Regions from separate parts of the Homo sapiens genome. Here regions 1, 2, 4, 5, 6 and 7 are each linked to region 3. The links are contacts of gene promoters, found by promoter capture Hi-C in blood cells and fetal thymus (Javierre and others, 2016). All regions are on one chromosome and are shown on one strand. Each heading gives the region's core, a stretch centred on a gene start or on the middle of the fragment in contact. The rest is flanking DNA. Distances are from core to core; before and after follow the strand shown. Region 1 has its middle 52 kb from the start of RNASEH2B-AS1. Region 2 overlaps DLEU7-AS1 (DLEU7 antisense RNA 1). Region 3 holds the start of KCNRG (potassium channel regulator). Region 4 overlaps RNASEH2B (ribonuclease H2 subunit B). Region 5 has its middle 69 kb from the start of RNASEH2B-AS1. Region 6 has its middle 31 kb from the start of RNASEH2B. Region 7 overlaps DLEU7 (deleted in lymphocytic leukemia 7).

Region 1 (2,700 bases), core at 79-2,578, 950 kb after region 3:
TTTCTTATCGGATGTTTGCCCACTATTTTTAGGATCTGATGATTTTCTAACTTTCATTTCTTCTATATTTATCAGTTGGCATTCTTCTGTAAGGAAGAACTTTCCCTTTTCCTTGCTTCTTCCCTCATTTATGAATTCTTAACAGTATGGATTTATAGATTTTTATTTTATCCAGTGGGCTATATTGCATTATTATTATTAATTTTAATGCTCATGTTGTTTCAGAAGAGCTAGTGGGAGACCCTTCAAGCTGACTTGTGTATCTTTTGGGTATGTTTCTATCATTCTTTAATACATTCCTGCTTCTGCGACTGGAGTTTCAGCCTCTTGTCCTGTGCAAGCCCTGAATCCACCTTTTTTTCAAAGAACCCTGGTTCCTTTCAGTGAAGAATGGTATTTAGAAACCAAGATCTAGGCAGTAGGTATGCTCATTGCTATTGGTATGTCATTGCTTAGGAGCCAAAGCTAGGAAATGTGTGTGTGTGTACAACATGTACACACACATATATACACTATATACTCGTATCAACATTTCTAAATCTATCCATGTATCTATCAGTATTTATCTATGTGTGTGGTTTTTTGTAGATTCCCTTTATCAGGCTGAGAAAGTTTCCTTCTGTTCCTAGTTCACTGAGAGTTTTTATCATATATAGGTATTTATCATATGTGGATATTGTCAAATAATTTGTATCTACTGAGATGATCAAGTAGTTTTCTTTTTAATAGAGGAATGTCTTTTAATATATGAATTATAATGATTGATTTTTGAATGTTAAACTAATTTTGCATTCTTGAGATAATCCCTACTTGGTCACAGTATATTATTCTTTTTATATGTAGTATGGGGTTTTTTTCCTAATATTTTGTTAAGTACTTTTTTGTATCTCTGTTCATGAGGGATATTGGTCTGTGGTTTTCTTTACTTGTAATGATTTTGTCTGATTTTGATGTCAGAGTAAAACTGGGCTTATAAAATGAGTTGGGAAGTATTCTTTCATCACTTATTTTCTGAAAGAGTTTGTGTGAGGTTGGTGTTGTTGCTTCCTTATATGTCGGACACAATTCACCAGTGAAGCCATTTGGACCTGGAATTTTCTTTGGGGGAAACTTTTAAATTACTAATTCAATTTCTATAATAGATGAAGAGCTATTCTAATTTTCTTTTTTTTTCTTGTGCCAGTTTTGGTAATTTATGTCTTTCAAGAAATGTATCCATTTGATCTAGGTTGTCAAATTTATTGGCATAAGTTGTTCATCACATTTTTATTATCCTTTTAATGTCTGTGGATCTGTAGTGATATTCCCTTTTTCATACCTGATGTTGGTCATCTGTGTCTTCTTTTTGCTTTCTCTGTTAGTATAGCTAAAGGTTTGTCAATTTCATTGATCCTTTCAAAGAATCATTGTCTTCTGGCTTGCATAATCTCTGATGAGACATCTATGATATTTCTTATATTTCTTCTCCTTTACATAATGTGTCTCCTCCTCATGGGTTCTTTTAAGATTTTCTTCTTTATTACTAGTTTTCAGCAAGTTGACTATGATGTGTTGATGTGGTTTTCTTTTTGTTTATCTCATTTGGGAGTGTATTAAGCTCCTTGAACTTTTGAGTTTTTAATTTTCATCAAATATGGAAAATTTCTGGCCAATATTTCTTTAAATACCTTTTTCCATTCTTTCCTCCCTTTTCTCCCTATCCCCTCAGCTTCTGGCCTCCAATTTCATGTATGCTGGAACACTTGGTATTGTCCTCCAGGTCCTATCACTGAGTTTCTGTTTTGTTGGTTGTTTGTTTTTTTATGTTCCATTTTTAGACAGTTTCTAGGTGTATCTTCAAGTTTACTTTGATTTATAGCATTTCATCTTCTGTTAACCTTAGTTATTTAATTTTTACTTTAAATATTGTAATTTTATTTATTTATTTATTTATTTTTGAGATGGAGTTTCGCTCTTGTTGCCCAGGCTGGAGTGCAATGGCACAATCTCAGCTCGCTGCAACTTCCGCCTCCCGGGTTCAAGTGATTCACCTGCCTCAGCCTCCCAAGTAGCTGGGATTACAGTCATGCGTCACCAGACCTGGCTAATTTTGTATTTTTAGTAGAGATGGGGTTTCTCCATGTTGGTCAGGCTGGTCTTGAACTCCCGACCTCAGGTGATCCGCCCACCTCAGCCTCCCAAAGTGCTGGGATTACAGGCCTGAGCCACCACGCCCGGCCTTAAATATTGTAATTTTTAGTTCTAGACGTTCCATTTGGTTCTTCTTTATGTCTTCCCGTATCTGTTCTTATTATGCTTGCAGTTTTCTTTAAATACTTCAATATAGTTAAAATAGCTACTTAAATGTCCTCATTTGCTAGTTCTATTATCTTTGTTATTTTCTATCTTCTAGGTCTATTTTTCTCCTCTCTCTTTTACTTTATTTTGAAATAATTTTATACTTTTCTAGAAAAGTCACAAAAATAGTAGAGTTTAGATATGATGTTCACCCAGCTTCCCTCAGTATTAGCATACATGACCATACTACAAAGATCAAAACCAGAAAATTTACCTTATTGTACTTTCACCTATCTTTCCACTAATACTTTTTTAATTTCAGAATTCAGTCTGTGATGGTACATTGCATTTAGCTGCCACATCTCTTCAGTGTTTTCTAATTTGTAAGAGTCCCGGCCGGGTGCGTTGGCTCACGCCTGTAAT
Region 2 (2,700 bases), core at 136-2,635, 830 kb after region 3:
CTCAAAAAGGATCCAAGAGAATTCCAGAAATAGAGCTGTTAACCTTCAGCGCACCCTGGTGAAGTTCATAGGTGAGGTCAGAACAAAACATGTCCAAAGAGACCAAAGAGTTATTATTCGTGAATGAAAATTATGATTGAGGAGAAACAGATGCTGAAGAGATACACCAAGATATGAAAATGTACTGTCAAAGAGAAAACAATGGAACTAGGACAAGGTGTAGGCCCAAGAAAGAAAGAAAGAGCAAAAAAGACCAAATTCTTTTTTTTAAACGTACCATTGTAATGTTTGAATATGCCAAGTTATAAAAGTAAATGCACGTGCCCTTCTAACTTTGGCCTAAACATTTGATTTTGGTGGATAAAACAAAGACGCAATACCGCCCTGAAGTCTCTGAATTGCCAAAAACAATTGTTTACATAGGATGGTGTGCTTTCAGAACATCATATGCACTACCTTCCCAGACCTTGTGAAGCTGGTGAAGTTTAATGAAGCTAGAGAAGAAAAATAGACAAGAGTGGGTAAAGGGAAAGAAAATAAGTTAAAAATGTTAACTCTCACCTGCCAGTCCAGATGTCATCTGATGTACATTTGCGCCTTTGCAATTTGTCAACACAAAATGCATTTCTTTCTGGACATATAAATCATTGTGCTTGGTTCTGTCTTAATAATCAGTTATTTGGTTTCGGCTTAGTAATCAGTTAGTTTATTTCCAAGGAGAATTATTGATATTGGCAGAAAAAAATCAAAAGTGGATTTTTTAAAAGTCAATATAATTTTTTCTAATTATTGTAGCTTTGGTGGATGATTTCAAGTTTAAGAGTGACGGAATGCCATGAATTTTCATGCTGCCTACATTTCAGTAAGACAACCTTGCTGGATTTCCCCCTCCATTTTGGATTATAAAATCTAACCCCTGCGGAACATCCTTTCACTTGGAGAGAAAAATTTACTTGGAAAAATTTCACTTGGAGAGAAAACCAAGAAAGCTTCTTGGTTTCCTGAACTATTTTGATTATCTGTGTAGATATGGCTTATAGTATTGAAATGAGGTGGCAGAAAGAGTAGTAGTGATAAAAATGGAGAAGAGAAAGGTCAAGTGAGTTTCAGTGATTTTGCCAACTAAATTCTAGGATCCTTAATGAAAAAAATGTGACCACCTTTATCACTTTCCAGGATCATCCTGTATTTTCAAGTTTCAGTAGGTACCCTTTTACTGTGATGGAAAGAAATGCTTGACTTGGGTCTATATATTTAAATTTATTTTTATTTTTTATTTTTATTTATTTATTTATTTTTGAGACAGAGTCTTGCTCTGTCGGGCAGGCTGGAGTGCAGTGGCACAATCTCAGCTCATCGCAACCTCTGCCTCCCGGGTTCAAGCAATTCTCCTGCCTCAGCCTCCTGGATAGCTGGGATTATGGATATGTACCACCACACCCAGCTAATTTTTGTATTTTTAATAGAGGTGGGTTTTCATCATGTTGGCCAGGCTGGTCTCAGACTCCTGACCTCAAGTGACCTGCCCATGCCCACCTTAGCCTCCCAAAGTGTTGAGATTACAGGTGTGAGCCACCACACCCGGTGTTATATTTAAATTTTTTAAAAAATCTTCTCTGTACCTTTCCTTACATTCATCCTCATTCCCTTACACACTTCTTTTCCTCTAAGGAATTTTCTCCTCTTGTTCTCCAAGTTCTTTTCTGGCAGGCTTTATGGCCGAGCAGACATTGGAGTTTTATCTACTCTTTCATCTGCTCCTCTCTTCCGTCTGTTTTTCCAAAGCTTCCTTTCCTATGGTAATTACCATGAAAAAAGGGGGCAAGGAGAGGGGGTTGAGGGGCCACATGGTTCTTTTGCTTAGCTTTTGTTACAAGATCACTATGGGTATATTCATGAAGTCAAAACTTCATCTGGGGAGGTTCAATGTAATCTCCAACTCTTAAACCCTGAGTGCAGCAAGGGAGAACTAAACTAGTTTTGAAAACTGGACTAGAGCCTTCCCACATTGTCTGTCTGTGCTAGGAAAACAAGAGAAGCCAACAGATGTGTTTATTTTATTTGTTTGATCATTTTGATCACTTTTGTTTCAAAATATTGTTAAGAATGGTCAGAAGAGTTGACATAGGTAAAATATGTTTTTAAAATAAATACTTGAACATGATTGAATTGACTCTTTTTCTTGGAGGAAAAAATATAAAATATTTTAAAGTATGTTTACATAAAAATATATATATTTTAGCATAAAGTATATCTCTTTTTAAATTATCATCATCTGTTTCTCTAATATTCACTCTTAATTAGCAAGTGGATCTTAAAGATGCTGATTTGACCGTAAAATGCAAATGGTCCACAGAAATAATCAAATTTCAAGCTTTTGTTCAAAAAATCATATGTACATTTTATTTTATCTGTACTTTCCATTTGAAAATTGAAACCACATTCATAAGGATCTTAAATGCCTCTGTTCAAAAATCTAAACTTTCTCAAAAGTTTAAATCATAGACTTGATGGATCATTTCTAGTTAATGATAGGTAATTTGTTAAAGAAGCATTGAAGGTGATTCTTAATGTCCTACTCACTTTTGCTAAGAACAAAAATCGAATACTTTCTCTATGTTCATTTTAATGTACAATCTATTTAACAGTGGCTTATTTTTAAAGAATTTTGAGTAATTATTATTCCATGACAGGGTAAAA
Region 3 (2,700 bases), core at 4-2,503:
TGGGCAGGGTGGCTCATGTCTATAATCTCAGCATTCTAGGACAGTGATGTGGGAGGATTATTTGAGGCTAGGAGTTCCAGTTCGAAACCAGCTTCGTAAACATAGCAAGACCCAGTCTCTACCAAAAAAAAAAAAAAAAAAAAAAAAAAAAAAAATATATATATATATATACACACACACACACACATATGTACACATACATATATATACATATATATGTATATATAGAACACATGGCAAGAGCAGGAAATGGGAAGACTACCTTTTTTCTGGCAGCTATGTGTTGTTTTGTTCGAAAGATGGCAAGTGTACAACCAAACCAATCCACTTGCTTACAGAAAGAATGTTTAGTGTAGTTAAGACTAATTTGACAACAGATAAAACAGTCTGTCAGCTATTACAAAGTAATCAGCTGAACACTAATGCTGTTCTGTCTGCTCACAAGAGATAAAGATACCCTCTCATGGAATAAACACCTTGCTTAGAATTCATATAACAAAGAAGTAACCTTATAACTGCTCTCTAGTCTGCCTTATTTGTGTCATAGAGTAAGATATTCCTTGAAAGCCCATTAAGTGGAATAGACTTTCTGAAAATAAGAGTTCTTTACCTCAGTCCTCCTCTAATTTGGTTGAGAGGAGGTAATGAAAATGGGGACAGGATAAAAGGTGGCAACTAAATTTAAAGCACAGAAGAAATGATTTCCTTCTAGCTATGAGAATAGTCAAATTGAGCTTGCCAGGCTGTCTCATTCCTAACATGTAATTCATGATTTAGCCACTAAATTTCTAAGGAGATCATAAGAAATTAAGAAAAACGTTTAAGTCTAGCCTCTGCGTGGTAGACAGGTATGGGGAGGGAGAATGCTTTTCCCCTCCCAGTAATAAAAAAAAAAAAAAAAAAAATATATATATATATATATATATATATATATATATATATATATATATATATATATATAGTTTTACTAGGTTTTCATGGATAAGTTTTTAAATGTAAGACAGGAAAGGGATCTATTTGATGTCTATCTTCAGATATATTGGCAGTTTTCCTTAAGCTATTTAGTTCCTCATCTGTTGCTTTTTCATTTTGTATACTGCAAGTTCCCAGGCAACTCGAATTTGCAAACACAGCCATGGATACACTATTTACCTTACAGTAGTTTCCTGGGAATCTAAGTCTGGTTTTTGTTATTCTTCCCTCCCCTCCACTGCATAATCATGTATAACTAGCAACATTTATGGTTATAGGTTGATTTCCTAAGTGTGGCTGATGGTAGCCTCTAGTTTGAAGTGAGGGAAGAATGAGTAGTCAGGAACTGGTCACTTTGAATGTGGGAGGGAAGATATTCACGACAAGGTTTTCTACGATAAAGCAGTTTCCTGCTTCTCGTTTGGCACGCATGTTAGATGGCAGAGACCAAGAATTCAAGATGGTTGGTGGCCAGATTTTTGTAGACAGAGATGGTGATTTGTTTAGTTTCATCTTAGATTTTTTGAGAACTCACCAGCTTTTATTACCCACTGAATTTTCAGACTATCTTAGGCTTCAGAGAGAGGCTCTTTTCTATGAACTTCGTTCTCTAGTTGATCTCTTAAACCCATACCTGCTACAGCCAAGACCTGCTCTTGTGGAGGTACATTTCCTAAGCCGGAACACTCAAGCTTTTTTCAGGGTGTTTGGCTCTTGCAGCAAAACAATTGAGATGCTAACAGGGAGGATTACAGTGTTTACAGAACAACCTTCAGCGCCGACCTGGAATGGTAACTTTTTCCCTCCTCAGATGACCTTACTTCCACTGCCTCCACAAAGACCTTCTTACCATGACCTGGTTTTCCAGTGTGGTTCTGACAGCACTACTGATAACCAAACTGGAGTCAGGTATTTTGTACTTTGCAGTATTTCTCTTGTATACCAGTTTGTGATGTTTTCTCTAAAAACTTGAAGTTCCTCAGGCCTGTAACTTCTGGAAAAGATGATTATTCAAAATAATGTTTTGGGGTAACCAGTGGAGTTGGGTAGAATGACCAAATAATTATTTTCCAAACTGGGATACTTTTTAGAGTGAAAGGGGCTATTATTAGGTGGGACAAAAGGAATAAATGAAGACTGCCCAGAAAAAACTGAGACTATGGACATTCAAATCATGGGAGAAAATAATTTTGTAGATTATGTTCCATTGCTAATGAATTTGACTTAGAAAAGAATTGCCTTATTTTTAAGAGATTGTTTCAGTGGTTCACATAAAGGCTCGCTCACTGGTTTCTCTTGAGTTCCTTACACACTATATAAGTTGTTCTTTCAGTTTTATGATTCAACTACTGTTTTTCCTTCAGCTGACTTTATTTTTAAACACCCTTAAAGACAGATATATCTCATGGCAAATTTGGTATCCTGTTACAGCCTTGGCTCTTAAACAACTCAAAATATTGGGATAGGCTGTCAGTATGTTAAGGATAGTTGCTCCTGAGTCAATTCTTCACTTACTCCCTCTGTTGTTCTTGGCTGGATCCTAACGCTGATTTCCACTCTGCTGTCACAAACATTTTTCCCCCCGTAAAATGTCTTAATGCTGTCCTACCATTATTTTACCAACTGTGAAAGCTGGCTTTAATTTTTAGGAGGAAAAGAAAAGCCTGCATGTGTTCTTTATTGGTATCATTTAAAATATACTTTTTTTTTTTTTTTTGGTAAAGGTAG
Region 4 (2,747 bases), core at 185-2,684, 920 kb after region 3:
TAGAGCGAGCTAGAAGTGGGTCATGGGCAAGGCCATACATCTGGTACAGTCTGGTGTCCCCAAATCAGGGGGCTAATACCTTAATTTAGACAAACTTCACCTCTACTTGCTACTAGTACAGTTACGAAAAACTAGACCTAATTCCAAAGAATGATGTTGTGAATCCATATGGTCTGCACTTCTGGCCCACTGGCAACCAGGCCATATAAACTTCTGTGGCTGAGCCTGATTTAGCCTGTCTGCAGCTTCCCATGACTTCTCCCTCTGGCTGTCTTTTCTTTTATTCTGGTCTAAATTTGGAAGCATTGTGAGGCAGCTTTGACAGGGGTAGATTCACTTTTGTATTTTCTTTTTGTGGCGGGTGCTTCTTTCATCATCCCTAGAGTGATGATGGGGAGGCAGATGTATGTCTGGGCCTGGTCTGGGCTTGTTCCAATGTGACAGTCAGGACTCTTGCTCTGTGACCACAGCTGGTTCTTCAAATTGAATGGGTTGGACCATCCCCAGGCAGTCTCCACCATCTTTGCAAGCTTCTGTGGCTTCCAGTGCTTTTGTAGATTGATTTTCTTCCCCATTTCATTTGGGGACTGTACACCCAAGGTAGATGGTGTGCTGTGTGGGACTCCAGTGCTCACAGGAGCTTCCTGAAGGGAGCTGGGGTCCGTCCTAGAGCCTGTCCCATTGTAGGGATTCCTTAGATGGAATAGGTGGCTTCTGCACTAAGTTTAAAGGCCCAGCCATGAGTTAATGTGTCTTTTTCTCTTTTTTTCTGAATGTCTTTGTTGAATGAAATGCTTGCTTTCCAACTAACTGTTTTTTCAGGGGAAGTTTCAGCCCCTTGATCAAGTTGTGGTGGATAACGTGTTTCCAAATTGCATCTTGTTGCTGAAACTTCCTGGACTTGAGAAGTTACTTCATCATGTGACAGAGGAAAAAGGTATGGTATAACTTAAAGGCTTATGGCTGGTAGAAAGGATGGACCTTGCCTAAGAACGTGGCTGCTTACAGACACACTGAATGTAAGGCTTATTCTGTGTCCACCATAGGGAAAACTATCATTCAGATTTGCTAACACTGCCAGCACTGTTCCTCTATTGCTTTGGAGTGTTTAGTCTTTGGAACTACAACCATGGCAGTCTAGGGCCTACGTCCACAGGGCAGGAATCACAAGGTGTGGCTTCAGTCTCACTTCTTCTTTGAACTAGTTCTGTGACATCAGGCAAGTCACTCAGCTGCCTTCTGCCTCAGATGTCTCATTGTAAAATTACGTAAAACCTGTACCTTAATAGATGGAAGCATTTATCGAGCACCTTCCAAAAAGCATATGTTGCACATTAGTGCTAAGCTCTAGATACTTATGAATAAGACATTGTCCTTTTCTTCACTTTGCGCCCAGTCTGATGGGGGTCAATGACAAGCTGAGCAGTGACCGCACAGTGTAACGGAAGTGAACTCTGAATTTACTGGGGATGCACAGGACAGGTTTCTAATCTGGCGGGGTTGGGTGGGGAATGTAGGTGGGTAGATGTTGTGTTGCTTTCCTGGGGGAAATGACCTCTTTATGGAGTCCTGAAGGATAGTCAGAGAAGCAGTGTAACAGAGGCTCAGATGTATGGAAAAGTTTGTCAGGTTCAGGAAGTTCCAAGGAGTTCAAAGTATAGGATTCTGGGGAAGGATGTAGGTTGGTAAGGAATGAGGCGGGAATGCTGGGCATGGGTCCAGATGGTAAAGGGCCCTGTGTGTGTTTGGACTTTGCTTAATGGTAGTGGAGTGTCTGTGAAGTTTTAAGCATGGCAGTCTGCAGTGTGGAGAGTATATTGGAGAAGCCAGGTCCACCAAGGCTGTTGCAGTGATCCAGACAGGAGATAATGGTGGCCTTGATCTTAGGAGATAGAACAAGAAGAAAGTAGCCATTTAGAGATGGACCCAACTGCATCTGGTTGTTGGGTGGTGGTCAAGGAGAAGGAGGAGTCAAGAGTGACTTCTCGGTTTGTGCCTGACCCAAAGGATGTGTAGTGGTGGGATCCTGGACACAGGGAACATGGGCTGGAGGAGCAGGATAGGGTAATGAAGAGATGCGTTTTCACTATCATTCATTTAATTTTTCAGAGGGAAAAGTAAGGCAGTGTGTGTGAATGTGTTTTGACAGGTTAGAAATAGTATAAAAACTTGGCTTTGGTGTCTTAAAAAATCATCCAAGTAGTTTCAGGGTTAATATGGAAACAAAGTGTGGGAACCAGAGCATCAGGCTGATAAGTTGTGGCTGTTTGGGTCATAGATGGTTTGGCCAACTATGACAGTTCTTCTGGGACCAAGAAAGTGGTGATTCCAAGAAGTGTAAGCTTACAGTGGGAAAGAGAAGAACCTTATTGATTGCATTTTATGTTTAAGGGGTCCAGTAAATTCATACTTGGCCACACTTGGAGCTCCAGTTTGGAACTGAGGGGTATATGGTGCCAGGGTTTTATCAAAGCAGTTCCATTAAAGACATTCCCTGATGCTGAGTTTGGCAGAAGACAGCAGTCTTTTTGTGGGTGACCTGAATTAGCCCATAACCACTTTTAAAAGATAAAGTAATGAAGAATAATTTAATTAAGCCATGTTAATTTTTGTCAACTTAATGCAAGCTGAAAATGCAGTTAACTCATTGTCCAGAATTCTGCTATTAGCTGTATAAGAACAATCATCTTAAAACCCAGAAATCCAGATTTAGAAACAATGTTAGTGCCTCAGCATTTGTTTCCTTA
Region 5 (2,700 bases), core at 127-2,626, 960 kb after region 3:
AGAGACGGGGTTTCACCTTGTTAGCCAGGATGGTCTCGATCTCCTGACCTCATGATCCACCCGCCTCGGCCTCCCAAAGTGCTGGGATTACAGGCGTGAGCCACCGCGCCCGGCCCCCAGTTAATGCTTTTCAACACAACCCTTTATATTTCCGAAGAATAAAGACTTGTAAAAGAGATGGGGGAGTTATGGCTGCAGAAAACTGGCCCTTACTTTGCTCTGCTGACAGTTTTATAAGGCCAAGGAAGTTCAAAAAGTAAAAAGACTTTCTAAGCAATTCCACAGAAATTCTAAGCATTTTCAGGAAACCCATTTTTAACTTTAAAAAAATATTAATACAAGATTAGTTGCAGTGATTTAATTAGTAAACCATGACAGATGGTTAACATGCAGCATTTTTTTTTTAATGTGAACAAAATCACCAGTTTTTTTTTCAGTTTGTTTTTTCTTATTAATCTTGGGTAAAGATTCCTTGGGTCTTCAAAGATAACTACTCAGTCTACTTTTTAAATGGATAGTTTGTCTGAATAATTTTGTTAAAGCTTTAGTAAATGAATGTTGGGAGTGTAATTTCCAGAGTACAGGCTGAATGCAATGACCCCTAACACAGCCCAGATCTGGTCACCATGGACTGATGGCAGAGAGGATCCAGATATTTTGGTTGGATTCATGATTAGAGACTAAATCAGTATGATGCCTATGAAAAGGTCTGGTTTTTAAATATTTGCCATGGAGCTAGAGTAGAAGGCAGGGTGACAGAGGCAGCGGTGGCTGGAGTGTAACCAGCCCATGAATCTCAGGCAGGACAGGCTTGCATGCTTCTGTATATTTCTCTAGGAGAGAACACTGGGCTTCAAGGCTAGTCTGTTCTGTCTTCAGGCTCTAGGAATCTTCTTGTCAAACCCCTTCATTGGAAAAATGGGGCCTAGAAAGATTAGATGACTTTCCCAAGTGATAAGCTAAGAAAATACCCCGAATGCTTTAAATCCACCTTGAGGCTTCAATGTCTATGTGCTCTATAAAGTGAATCCCATATTGTTTTTCTTTAAAAGATTTTCAGAAATAGCTGCCTTTTACCCTTTACTCACACTAAAGTTTTGAAATACTAATGTTTCTGATTTGAAGATGGAGGTGGGAAGTTCATCCTCTATCCCCACCTCCCACCCCCAATCTCTTCTTTGAAATCATCCAAAGCAAAAGGAAAATAAGAAATGGAAACCAAAAAATCAATTTTCAGCAAAACTAGGAGGTATTTTAAACTATGAACAACAAATAGATGGAAGGACTGCAAAAAGCAGGGGAGCTTCCAGGAGAAAGAGGAAGGAAGAGTTCATGGCTGTGGAAATGAGACTGAGTCAGCAAAAATACATTTGTAAACAGAGAGGGCAGAGGTGAGGAATAAAGTCTAAGTCACATGTTTATGACAGAAGGAACCAGTATACACACCAGAACAGCAAGAACTCTCCAAGACCCAATTTAGTTGTGAAATGAAGAGGTGATGGAGTTAAAAAAAAAAAAATCACACATCCACATCACATTTGCAGGAACTATCTATCTCAGTGGCAGAGGGAAAGAAGAGAGACGTTGCTTTTTAAAAATCCCCATAGCTACCTGTCTTTATTGATCAGGGAGAAATAGAACTAAAACTTGCATGCAAAACCCTGGTTTATAAAGAAAATTCCTACTAGGCTGGGATGAGGCCCTGTAAATATTTGGCCCAAGGAAAACTCTTGTGCCTCAAAGATGAGAAACCAAAAAGAACAAACCCAAGTTATTTCAAAGATATGAAACATAAAACAAGAAAAAAAAAGACCAGAAAAAGTAAATGGCAGATAAAGTGTTGCCAAAGAGCAGATAAAAATAGTAAAAAGCATTTTACTACAAACATAAAATACTTAAACAATTACCTCTATGAAGTTTGGGCACAAAGTAGAGAGGGAAGAATCATGGAAGTCACAGAAAGACAAGTGATGTTGTTTGAGCTGGCGCACTACAGGGTAGGCATGGGGGAAAATGTAAACCATCAAAGAAACAAAGATGTGTTTGAAGGAAGATAGACAATAATAATAGCACAAGAGCTCAGAGGTTAAAAATAAGAAAACCAAGCAAAATGAAATTGATTTGGGTACAGGAAAGATTTATTAAACAGGACAAAAAGGTGAGCAAAATACTGATTTTTTAAAACCTGGTGATTGTAGAGTTCAAAAAAACAAGCTTACTTGTAAATATTAATGCAAAAATATTAAATAAAATATTACCAAATAGACTCAAACAATTCATTAAAAGAATAATACAATGTGACAAATTGGGGTTTATTCATAATATAAAGATGGTTCAATATTAAGAAGTCTTACCATATTAGTTATCTAAGAAAGAAATAAGGTATTATTAATCTCCTTAGATACTTAAAAGATACTTGGTAGCACTTCTTCTTGTCGCCATGTGAAGAAGGATGTGTTTGCTTCCCCTTCCATCATGATTGTAAGTTTCCTGAGGCCTCCCTAGCCCTGTGGAACTGTGAGTCAATTAAACCCCTTCCTATATTAAAAAAAAAAAAAAGATACCTAGTAAAATTCAACTGCCATTATTGATCTCAAAATAATTCAGTGAAATAGGAATAGATGTGTACTTCCCTAATTTATACAAAATAAAAGTCAACATTATGTTTAGTGGAGAAATATCAGTAGTGTTACCATTAAA
Region 6 (2,700 bases), core at 179-2,678, 860 kb after region 3:
TCTTGGAATCCTAGAGACAGTAAGACTCTGGAAAGTTCTCCAAGCTTCACACAGCCCAGCCCCCAACTTTCCAAACTGTGGGAGTTCTCTTTATGCCTTACAGCCCAGCCACCAACTTCTTGGGTTGCTGGGGCCTTTTCTTTGCCTAAACTCTGCCTCCACATCTCAGAGCCTTAAGATAGCTCTTCCTCCAGCATTCAATAGGTGGCTACAATGTACTCAGTAGAGACCTTGTGTAGGGAGGGTGGAGGTAGGGGTGAGGTGGGTGGGTAGGGTTGAGGGGATTGGAGAGTTGAAAGGGTTTTCGGGAGCATCTATTTCTCTCAGTTCTCCTGCTTTGCCTCTGGCTACTGCAGGCTGCTGCCTTGCATTTGGTGAAAGCCTCGTGCTTTCTAGGAGGGGATTTCTTTCAGCTTTCCTGCCTTACCCCCAGTGTGTAATGGGGACTGCCTTGCAATGGATGAACCTCACATGCCTTGGAGAATCCCTCTTGCTTCTCCTGCCTTGCTTCCTGTGCTCAGTGGGCTACTTTCTTGTACTTTGGGAAGACCTGGTGTACCTGGGGAGGGTATTTCTCAGTTCTCCTACCCTGGCACCAGCTTTCAGTGTACGACTCCCATCCACTCAATGGAGGCTGGGTGGGTACAGACTAGTTCTATTCCTGGGGTACCTTGTGATTCTACTCTGTTATGCCAACCCATATACAATCATCCAAAATTTGTTTAAAGATAGGCTGGTTTCTCCCTTCCTCTTCTGTGCTCCTTCCAACATGTCCCTAGGAACAAAAGCAGCTGTGGGACTCTTCTCTCTAGGAAGAGCTTGATCCTTTTGGAAATGTAGTTAATTTGAGGGATTTTTTTCTTTTTTTTTTTTTTTTTTTTGGCTCCTGGGTTCTCTGATGAGTGTGAAACATGCAAATGAAAGCAACAACAAATAAAACTGTCATTTGTAGTGCTTCTGGTCTGTTCTCATGGTTAGAGTAAGAGTGATAGACTCCTGCAAATTTCTGCATCTTATAAAAGAGTGGAGGCTTGTCCCCTCATTGGGTTTTGTACATTGTCTTTGGGCTGTAGGTTGTACCTGTCACTAAGGTACCTTAAATAAACATACACACACATTTCGTTTTTTAAAAATGGCTAAGTCAAGCCTCTAAGTTCAACATCCAAACTCCATGTGAAGGAGTTTCAACTTTCTTTGGTTTTCAAAAATCCCCTCTAAGATCTTCCATATTTGTGATGGAATTTACATAAAACATTTATTCAAAAAAAAGTTATTGAATACCTAGTATGCACTAAGGGCTGTTTCAGGACCTGGAGATGCAAGATAACAGTGCCATGGAGCTAACGTTCTAGTGGACTTCTGGAAAAACTAAGGGATCGTGACTTAGCTGTGACTGCAAGTCACATATGCAAGTTCACCACAGTTGACCTTTTGAAACAGTCATTTCAGGAGTTAAATTATAAGGAAAATTCATTCCAGACCTCTGCTGAAATAAACAATGCTTCTAAATTCTATAGAGATGTGTAGCCAGTGGGGAGCTGTCTGACTACATCAGTTTACAGACTTCTTTCAGCAAAATCAGAGATCCACATGGAAAACCAAGTATTCAGGAGCCTCTATGTATATTACAGCATGCCCTGGGGCCTCAAGCAGTCTCCTTTATGTGTAATTTTTTCATCTGTGACAGATTTAATGTGGATAATAATGCTTACTTAATAAGCAATCCAGTATAATTTAACAGAAGTTACTAATGTAAGTTCAAATGAGTTTTCATTTACAATTTTAAGAACACCATGTGTATGACAGGAAAACAGTGGGTGAAGAGCTGATCTAAAAAGCAAAAATGGTAACATCCTGAATTATGCCATAGAATCCATTTATTTTGATTAACCAGCTGAGACTATGAAAGGTGGAAAATGCATTTCATGGTAGATATACTTTAGGTATAATACTAAGAACTTAAACCAAAGGATTGTACCATTCACCTGACATATCATAAGACATGAAATCATGTTTACTTACATACTTTTAGTTTATCCATTAAAAAAAGAGTCAGCAAACTTTCTCTAAAGGTCCAGGTTGTAAATAGTTTAGGCTTTGCAGACTATAGTTTCTGTTGCAACTACTCTATTGTAGCATGAAAGCAGTCAGAGACAATAAGTAAATAAATGGGCAAGGCTGTGTTCCAATAAAACTTTATTTACAAAATCAGGCAGTAAACCAGATTTGGCCTGTGCACTGTAGTTTATCAACCCCTAGACCATCCTGGCTAACATGGTGAAACCCCATCTCTACTAAAAATACAAAAATTAGCCAGGTGTGGTGGTGGGCACCCATAGTCCCAGCTACTCGGGAGGCTGAGGCAGAAGAATCACTTGAACCCGGGAGGCAGAGGTTGCAGTGAGCCGAGATCACACCACTGCACTCCAGCCTGGCGACAGAGTGAGACTCTGTCTCAAAAAGTAACTAACTAACTAACTAAATAATAATAATAAAAATAAAATGTCATATTGGCATTGTAATTACACTCTCCAGAAGAAATTACAGGTTATGTACAAAATGTATTGCTCCATGACTGGCTACAGGCAGAATGGGTGGCTGTCTGTGTGTTATGACTCTATTAAAATATTACTGTATTATGGAAGTATTTCTAGACCTGTATGATGGAATTTTTTAGTGTGTATGATATCAATACATAAT
Region 7 (2,700 bases), core at 40-2,539, 810 kb after region 3:
AGCAATGATCATGCCATTGCTCTCCAGCCTGGGCAACAGAGCGAGACCCTGTCTCAAAGAAAAAGAAAAAACAGATTATTGACCTTATGTATATAGAAAGTAAACTTGAGAAATAAAGATACAAACATAAGGCAAGGTAAACAGAAAGCACTAAAAAAGATAGTAGTAAGCCTACACATATCAGAAAGCACAACAAGTGCAAAGCAATAAACTCACCTTTTGGAAGATAATGATTACTATATTGGTTTTATATGCTGTTTACAAGAAACACATTTAAATCTAAAACCACATAAAGATTGAAAGTGAATGGATATTTAAATATATGCCAAGCAAAGAGAAGCCAAAATAAAACCAAAAAAAATCATTATTTGGGATGAAATAAAACTATGACTAATAAAATGAATGATTCCCCAAGCAGATGTCACAATTTTGTACCTGTATGTCCCTAATATGATAATCATAACATACATTCAGTCTACACACATACAAGCTGATTTTAACCTAGCTTCCTCTGAAACTAGATAGATCAAACAACAAAACAGAGAAAGACTGAAAAACACTAATCACAAGCTTGAGCCAATGGAAATAAGAAAATATACATTATTGTCAAACATATGTGGACTATTTATAAAGCTGTCTATATTATAATGTCACAAAGCAAATCTCAACAAATATCAGAAAGACTCTATCATGCAAATCACAATGCAAATAAATGAGAAATCAATAACATAGATACCCTTCCCAAAACATGTGTGACTTAGAAAACCCACTTCTAAATAATTCATGGATCAGTGAAAAAATAATTGAAAGTTTCAAATACTTTATACTGAACTATATCACAAATTTGTGGGATGTAGCCACAGTGAGAAACACTTTGACTTAAATGATTATGTAAATAAAGAATAATCCCTGAAAATCCATGAGCTAAAAATTCAACTCAATAATGTAGGAAAAGAGAAACAGATACTGTCACTCAAAAAAAATGGAAGGAAGAACTAAAAGTTGAACCAAAGTTTGATGAGGGACCAGAGTTTCCTTCCTAATTCTGTCTATAAGGGGAAACTATTCTTCTCCCTATGAAAAACCCTGTTTTTTGACCGAGAAGGACCTGGGTTTCTGACAAAGTGCTTATTAGAAAACATCCCTCAGAAACAAAACCAATGTTCATTTCAACTTAGCAAACAGTGGCAGCAGGACCACCTGCGAGCTAGGTGCCAGGACAGAACCATACCATGCTCAAGGATTCGCAAGCTACCATACTTTTTGTTCTTTTCTCTTTAAAGCATTCTTGCTTCCCTACCTTTGTGTGTTGCTCATTTCTGCCCAGAAGGTGTCAAAGAGCTGTTAAGATCAAGCCTGTCCAACCTGTGGCTCAAGATGGCATTGAATGCAGCCCAACACAAATTTGTAAATTTTCTTAAAACACTGTAAGATTTTTTTTGTGATTTTTAAAAAAAATTTAGCTCATCAGCTATCAGTAGTGTTAGTGTATTTTATGTGTGGCCCAAGACAATTCTTCTAATGTGGCCCAGGGAAGCCAAAAAATTGGACATCCCTGCTGTAGATGACCTGTCCCATAGCTTATGGGGTGGCCTGTGTGCTGAAGCATACTGCTAGGGAATGGGAAAGTAGGAGAGAAAAATCACTCTGGACTATTTCCTCAAGATCCACATCAAGGAAAATTGTCCGATTGCTTTATAGAAGTAATCCAATACTAACTACAAAGTATAAGGATCAAAGAAAACATGCAAGGGGAAATTCAAAATAGAAGGAACCACTAAAACGTGTGCTGACATGTGCCTATTAGCCAGTATGCAAAGGAATTCATCACCCAAAGAAGACTAAAATGCCTTTAAAAATATAGTTGTGGGCAGAAAACCTGAAGTCAATTTCATGTTTTACTGTAAAGAATCAAAGAAGGTGTTGCTTGGGGAAATTACATGTACAATAAAATTCGACTGCTGGGCTGTACTGGTCCCTGAGGCCCTGGGCAAACTTCAGATCTCTGGCAAGCTTTGCAAACTCACTTTATTTTACTATTCTAGTACAGTATTTCCTTTTTATCCTTTCTCAAATATATTAGCAAAGAAAACAAATTAATAGGAATAGGCTTTCCGTGGGACTCTTAAGCCAGGGTAGGGAAAAATAAAACAGGTGTGTGCTTCTCTACCATTCCAGAAGGTCTGAAGGCCAACTCTGGATCCAATAATCATTGCCTTCGACCAAACTTCTGCTGAGTCTGCAATGGAAGGTAGGGGTCACAAGTCACAGCATTAAGGCAATAGTATATTAAATGGCTCATGGGCTTTCAGTAGAAACTCACATGATCAATATTGGTGATGATTTCACTTAGGATGCTTTCCATTCAACAACAAAGCCTATCCTCCCAGCCGCTTTTATTTAGCAAATCCCAGATGCTCCCAGAAATGATGTAATATCCTACACGATGCTTTGAGTACTTTGCCAGAATTAGAACTACATGGTTGAGCAATCTAAAAGCAGGTTTTGAAACTTCTAAAGCCTTGTGTAATTTCAGACTCTGGATATGAAATGTATTGATTACTACAGCAGTCCAAATTGATGGCCAGCATTTACATTTTTAAGCCAGTTGAGATACTCTCATGTAACTCAACTGATCTATTGGGGTAATGGCCTTGGCCTGTTTAACTCAGCTAAATGAATTAGTTAAATTTATTTCAA

The links. Contacts are between HindIII fragments. The CHiCAGO score rates a contact against its expected background, and 5 or more counts as called.
Region 1: a fragment that was not itself captured here is called in contact with the fragment with the promoter of KCNRG in region 3 in 1 of 17 cell types (fetal thymus); the score reaches 5.4 in fetal thymus.
Region 2: a contact is called between a fragment that was not itself captured here and the fragment with the promoter of KCNRG in region 3, in 1 of 17 cell types (total B cells). The highest score is 5.4, in total B cells.
Region 4: a fragment that was not itself captured here is called in contact with the fragment with the promoter of KCNRG in region 3 in 7 of 17 cell types (naive B cells, total CD4 T cells, total B cells and 4 more); the score reaches 11.2 in naive B cells.
Region 5: a contact is called between a fragment that was not itself captured here and the fragment with the promoter of KCNRG in region 3, in 2 of 17 cell types (total CD4 T cells and total B cells). The highest score is 6.5, in total CD4 T cells.
Region 6: a fragment that was not itself captured here is called in contact with the fragment with the promoter of KCNRG in region 3 in 1 of 17 cell types (total B cells); the score reaches 6.1 in total B cells.
Region 7: a fragment that was not itself captured here is called in contact with the fragment with the promoter of KCNRG in region 3 in 2 of 17 cell types (fetal thymus and total B cells); the score reaches 7.2 in fetal thymus.

What each region holds. Positions count from the first base shown.
Region 1 is chr13:50,961,245-50,963,944 of GRCh38, forward strand. It overlaps a transcript of RNASEH2B not described here. Among named protein-coding and RNA genes, the nearest start is that of RNASEH2B-AS1, 52 kb to the left of the region's middle. The HindIII fragment of the contact is 4,044 bases long and covers 1-2,700 here.
Region 2 is chr13:50,847,742-50,850,441 of GRCh38, forward strand. DLEU7-AS1 (DLEU7 antisense RNA 1) reads left to right here. Exons shown (of 5, transcript NR_046551.1): 5 at 796-2,164. Among named protein-coding and RNA genes, the nearest start is that of DLEU7, 5.4 kb to the left of the region's middle. The HindIII fragment of the contact is 796 bases long and covers 988-1,783 here.
Region 3 is chr13:50,014,191-50,016,890 of GRCh38, forward strand. KCNRG (potassium channel regulator) reads left to right here and starts at 1,254. Exons shown (of 2, transcript NM_173605.2): 1 at 1,254-1,881. The coding sequence starts at 1,304. It overlaps TRIM13 (tripartite motif containing 13), which reads left to right. Exons shown (of 2, transcript NM_213590.3): 2 at 1-2,700. The region is part of intron 10 of DLEU2 (deleted in lymphocytic leukemia 2); the gene reads right to left. The HindIII fragment of the contact is 12,687 bases long and covers 1-1,662 here.
Region 4 is chr13:50,934,063-50,936,809 of GRCh38, forward strand. It overlaps RNASEH2B (ribonuclease H2 subunit B), which reads left to right. Exons shown (of 11, transcript NM_024570.4): 5 at 823-937. Among named protein-coding and RNA genes, the nearest start is that of RNASEH2B-AS1, 25 kb to the left of the region's middle. The HindIII fragment of the contact is 1,812 bases long and covers 529-2,340 here.
Region 5 is chr13:50,978,013-50,980,712 of GRCh38, forward strand. No RefSeq gene overlaps it. Among named protein-coding and RNA genes, the nearest start is that of RNASEH2B-AS1, 69 kb to the left of the region's middle. The HindIII fragment of the contact is 1,672 bases long and covers 541-2,212 here.
Region 6 is chr13:50,877,393-50,880,092 of GRCh38, forward strand. No RefSeq gene overlaps it. Among named protein-coding and RNA genes, the nearest start is that of RNASEH2B, 31 kb to the right of the region's middle. The HindIII fragment of the contact is 2,773 bases long and covers 43-2,700 here.
Region 7 is chr13:50,827,632-50,830,331 of GRCh38, forward strand. All of the region lies in intron 1 of DLEU7 (deleted in lymphocytic leukemia 7), which reads right to left. All of the region lies in intron 3 of DLEU7-AS1 (DLEU7 antisense RNA 1), which reads left to right. Among named protein-coding and RNA genes, the nearest start is that of DLEU7, 15 kb to the right of the region's middle. The HindIII fragment of the contact is 1,443 bases long and covers 569-2,011 here.